2 separate regions of the Homo sapiens genome follow, and region 1 is linked to region 2. Evidence: promoter capture Hi-C in 16 types of primary human blood cells and fetal thymus (Javierre and others, 2016). All regions are on one chromosome and are shown on one strand. The core of a region is centred on a gene start or on the middle of the fragment in contact, and the rest is flanking DNA. Distances in the headings are between cores, read along the strand shown.

What was found. The method cuts DNA at HindIII sites, captures the fragments that hold promoters and counts their contacts. A CHiCAGO score of 5 or more calls a contact.
Region 1: a contact is called between a fragment that was not itself captured here and the fragment with the promoter of METTL13 in region 2, in 3 of 17 cell types (total CD8 T cells, non-activated CD4 T cells and naive CD8 T cells). The highest score is 7.7, in total CD8 T cells.

Annotation. Positions count from the first base shown.
Region 1 is chr1:173,857,962-173,860,661 of GRCh38, reverse strand. It overlaps DARS2 (aspartyl-tRNA synthetase 2, mitochondrial), which reads right to left. Exons shown (of 17, transcript NM_018122.5): 17 at 2,116-2,700. Among named protein-coding and RNA genes, the nearest start is that of GAS5-AS1, 3.9 kb to the left of the region's middle. The HindIII fragment of the contact is 2,407 bases long and covers 105-2,511 here.
Region 2 is chr1:171,780,178-171,782,935 of GRCh38, reverse strand. It overlaps METTL13 (methyltransferase 13, eEF1A N-terminus and K55), which reads right to left and starts at 1,276. Exons shown (of 8, transcript NM_015935.5): 1 at 816-1,276. The coding sequence starts at 968. RefSeq lists enhancers at 930-1,463, 1,293-1,587. The HindIII fragment of the contact is 1,150 bases long and covers 889-2,038 here.

The DNA of each region.
Region 1 (2,700 bases), core at 59-2,558, 2.1 Mb before region 2:
TTATTCATATTTTAGGGGTAATTTTGGCAGAGATTTGCTCAAAAAAGAACAAGTCAGCTTGGAAAAAACTGATGGCATTTGTTGCCAATGATAAAACTCAAGCTTCCAAATGAAACCTAAAATTTTGGAAGGCTTGTATACACTTCTGTGCCCTTATAGCTTCCTCAGACTTAGACTTTTGTAATGGGATTGGTGGTAATATTAATTAATGGTATTTTGTTTTAGATATTGTATATCAAAATGTGTCAACATTTGGAAGATTTGCATAACTCAGTGAACCAATATTTTCCAAATGATCAATCACTGGACTGGTGTTACAAATATCACACATAGGTAAAAGTTCTATTTAAATACAAGGTACACCAATGGACTTTAGAAAAGCTCATCAATACGATTTCAGAATCCACATTGCAACTAGCCTTTAAGGAACTCTACTACTTGTCATATTTTGGTGTGGTATCAAAGAGAGTATCCATAATTATCAGACAAAGCTATTAAAATACTCCTCCCTTTTCCAACTTTATATATGAGTGGGGTCAGATTTTCTTCACAGACTTCAACCAAAACAGCATATAACAACAGATAGGATACAGAAGCAGATATCAGAATCTAGTGTCTTCTATTAAGCCAGAAATAAAAAATATTTGCAGAAATATAAAACAATGTTACTCTTCTATTTTTTTTTTGAAAATAATTATTTTTAAAATAAAAACATGGCTGAGTGTGGTGGCTCACGCCTTTGTAATCCCAGAACTTTGGGAGGCTGAGGCAGGCGGATCACCTGAGGCCAGGAGCTTGAGACCAGCCTGGTCAACATGGCAAAACCTCGTCTCTACTAAAAATACAAAAATTAACCAGGTGTGGTGGAGGGCACCTGTGGTCCCAACTACTCAGGAGGCTGAGGCAGGAAAACTGCCTGAACCCGGGAGGTGGAGGATGAAGTGAGCCAAGATCGCACCATTGCACTCCAGCCTGGGCAACAGAGTGAGACTCTGTCTCAAAATAAAATAAAATAAAAACATGCTATTTGTGTTAACATGTAATGGGTTATTTTAAAATGAATTTAACATTTTAAACTAAATCATTAAATCAATTATTAATTAATTAAATAGGAGGCTGAGGCAGGAGAATCACTTGAACCCAGGAGGTGGAGGTTGCAGTGAGCCAAGATGGTGCCACTGCACTCTAACCTGGGCAAAAGAGCGAGACTCTGTCTCAAAAAAAAAAAAGGTATAAATCAAAAGAATTTCAAGGCAGAAGTGAAGACTGAGTAGAAGAAAACAATTTCAAAATCACTGATCAAGACCTTGTTCTCATTTTGTCTTTTTTTGAAATGGAGTCTTGTTCTGTTGCCAGGCTGGAGTGCAGTGGTGTAACCTCGGCTCACTGCAATCTCCACCTCCTGGGTTCAAGTGATTCTCCTGCCTCAGCCTCCTGAGTAGCTGGGACTACAGGTATGTGCCACCACACCCAGCTAATTTTTGTATTTTTAGTAGAGATGGGGTTTCACCATGTTGGCCAGGATGGTCTCAGTCTCTTGACCTTGTGATCTGTCTGCCTCAGCCTCCCAAAGTGCTGGGATTATAGGCGTGAGCCACTGTACCCGGCCTCATTTTATAATTATTAGTTTATTAAAACTTTTATGTGTATGATTAGAACTTAAAATCACAATGAGTTTTGGTGTTCACTTTTTCGCACATTTGAGGTTAATCTAAGGTTGATTAGAATTTTCAATTACTTATAATTGAGAGAAAATAGTGTTCAGTGATTAATAATATCTTTGTTGTCTTTTTTTTTTTGAGATGGAGTCTTGCTCTGTCACCCAGGCTGGAGTGTAATGGCACCATCTTGGCTCACTGCAACCTCCATCTCCCAGGTTCAAGCAAACCTCATGCCTCAGCCTCCCGAGTGGCTGCGATTACAGGCATGCGCCACCATGCCTGGCTAATTTTTGTGTTTTTAGTAGAGACGGTTTCACTATGTTGGCCAGGCTGGTGTTGAACTCCTGACCTCAAGTGATCCACCCACCTCAATCTCCCAAAGTGCTGGGATTACAGGTGTGAGCCACCACTCCCGGCCAATAATATCTTTAAAACTAAAAAAAAAAACAGAAAATTGATAAGTAAAATGACTTTTACTATTGATATCAGTTTTGTTTAATCTGAAACTATAAAATAGAGATATATCTACCTATTTATGGATGGATAATACCATCATCTCATATTTGTGGAATGCTTTATAGTTTTTCAAAGTACTTTTATTCACTTTATCTTCCATATATGTTATCTCCTCTGATTCCAGCAATAACAGCCCGGTGAGGTAGCCAGGGCAAGTATGTATTTTACACATTAGCAGGAAGGGAGGCTAAGCGAGGTTTATGTAACTTACTCAGGCTGAAACACTGAAGAAAAATTTGTGACTCTCATTTCAGTGATGTTTTCTGCATTATTAAAAAATATTATGCTACTCCTCACTATATTATGTTGATGGTTGAAATGTCATTATAAAGCTTAATTTATATGATTCTCTTGATGAGGATGATGAAGCAAATGCTCCATCAACTCACTAGTTTACAGGGGCAAGCATTTTCCTACATTTCACACATAATTTGATTACCTCTGTCCTAAGTGAATAATCTACTATCTGGGTATGAGAAACATGATTTGAAAACACTAAACCACTATATTATTTCAACAAAGA
Region 2 (2,758 bases), core at 27-2,526:
AAGCTTCCCCACAAATGTTAAGTTTTCTACCTTCCTCCTTCCCTACCTCCAGTACAATCTCACCTATACCAAACCCATTGTTGTACTTATCACGTTTCACTTCTGGAACATGTGCAGGGTTTACGTCTTAATGCTCTTATAGTTTAAGGACTGAGCAGTGCCTGAAACTTGGGGCGCACTCAACGACTATTTGAAAAACAAATTCATACACAAAGTCACACCTGCTGCAGGTTGCACAGGAATGCACAGTGACAGAAGAACATACTTTCAAGATGGGAAGTCACTCTTCAAGTAGGGTTATTAATCCAAGAATGAGCTGGGGTGGGAGGTCTATTATCTGAAAACCTTTAAAGAAATGTTTTTTTTTTTAGACAGGGTCTCACTCTGTCACCCAGGCTGGAGTGCAGTGGCGTGATCATGGCTCACTGCAGCCTCGACCTCCTGGGCTCAAGCGATCCTCCCGCCTAAGCCTCCCGAGTAGCTGGAAATACAGATGCGCGCCACCACGCCCGGCTAATTTTTTCATTTTTTGTAGAGACGAGGTCTCATGTTCCCCAGGCTGGTCTTTAACTCCAGGGCTCAAGCGATCCTCCCACCTCGGTCTCCCAAAGTGTTCGGATTACAGGTGTGAGCCACTGCGCCCGGCCTGAAAGAATATTCTAGTTTGTCTTTTAGCAGGAACAATGCAGGAAATGCTGAAATATGCGTCCAACTAGGGTCCTCCCGCCTGTCACTGTCCACCAAGTGCAAGATTCCTGTTACCAGTTCCCACCTTCCGGAGCACGTACGAAGGGCTACCAACCCGCGCTCCTCACCTTTTCCCTGGGCTTGATATATTTATGTAGCACCCCGCACAGTTCCAGGTAGGTTCCATACCACTCGAAAGCTTTCTTTCCTCGCTGCTGGAAGAACTTCTCCCAATAGTCAACGGAGCCAAACTCCCTGGAACTTTTAGGTAAGAGGTTCATGTTCCTACTGCCGAAGCTGCGTTTTCAAGACTCCCCTATTCCCTGTGAGATACCATTTGAGGAGCTTGCCCACCACACGCAGGCTCCGGGACACTGCAGTGGGAATTCTTTCCACGGAAAAACAGCCACATTGATTTGTTCCCCCACTCCAAACCCCAGGAATGACCCTTACACGACAAACGCACGCATGGACCACTGAATCTCACACACGCTTGCCCCCTCCTCCGCGCCTGCTGTTCCTTCCCCACGTGAAGAGCCCCTCACACTTTTCCCGAACTAGATTTCCGAGCCCATAACCATATCCGGGTGCGAAGCCTCGTGATTCGTCGGCCGGCCCAGCCCAACTCAGCTAGTCATTGGTCGCTGCTTTGCGTTTCTATCACCTCATTGGCTGCGACGTGCTTGCCTTTCTCCGGAGGCTCCGTCGCAGACACCTAAACGCTTTTTTGACCTGAGGCCGGCCGACCATTCACGGAACGGGGCGGGACCGCGGGCCGGAGTTGTGGCGGAAGAGGCCGGGCCTCTGTGAGAACTAGGTCACGTCCGGGTGAGGAGTGAGCGCGGCTGTGCTGTGGTTGGGCCCTCCCTCCAGGCGGGGCGGAGAGCGCGCTTGCTTCCTGGGCTCGGCCTCCGCTTTGTCTTGGAGCCGGCTTAATCACTGACTCCGATCGTGCGCCGCACAAGGGCGGAGCGCGGCAGGCGGGAGCGTACTGGTAGAGGAGGACGAAAAGAAAAACCTATACAGATAGGAGAGAAGTGAGGCAGGAAATGAGTAAAGCCAGTCCGTCGTAAAAACGCTGCACATTCTAACCTTGTCAGCTTCTGCGCACCAGCACCCCCCGCCTTATTTTGCCACCTCTGCACCAAAATATAGGATTCTGCTATCAAAAGTGTAATAACATGAAAACTCCCTCTTCCTTCTCTCCGCAAAGCACAGCATGCAAAACTAGCCTTTCATTTTGATAATTGGCCTCCTTGTGTTATTCTGACGTTATTTATAACTGCTTATTTTATGTGTTTGATAAACATACTGTACTTTCACATGCTCATGCTAATACCCTGAGGAAGCTTCTGTGAAGGGCACTTTTTTTTCAGACAGGGTCTGTCTCTGTCGCCCAGACTGGAGTGCAGTGGTGCAGTCATGGCTCACTGCAGTCTCCACTTTCCAGGGGTCAGGGGATCCTCCCACCTCAGCCTCCCAAGTAGCACGCCACTACCGCTGGCTAATTTTTTTTTTTTTTTTGTAGAAATGGGGTTTCGCCATGTTGTCCGGGCTGTTCTCAAACTCCTGAGCTCAAATGATCATCTCGCCTCACCCTACCAAAGTGCTGGGATGACTGGTGTGAGCCACTATGCTGGCAGGCACTATTTGAAAATGACCAAATATGTGTATCACTGGGCCTTTCATACCATGATAAATTGCAGGAGGAATATACTGATTGCGGAGAGCAGATAGGCTTGGAATTGAGCATGTGTGCTGTGGGCTGTTACATACTACACTACCACAGGTAGATAGCCAGGTAGACTGTTAATAGTTAAGTAGGTTAGATTGGACTTAAACATTGGTTTAAAAAAGTGATTCTCAAACTGGCATGCGTCAGAATCACCTGGAGGACTTGTTAAAACACAGAATTCCCCAGTCCAACCCCTGTTCTAAGTCATTAGTTCAGTGGTGAGGCCCAAGGATTTGTGTTTCTAACAAGTTCCCACGATGCTGATGATGTTGGTCCCGGAACCACACTTTTTTGAGAACCACTGTTTTAAAATACAATTAAGTCAAAATGGATATG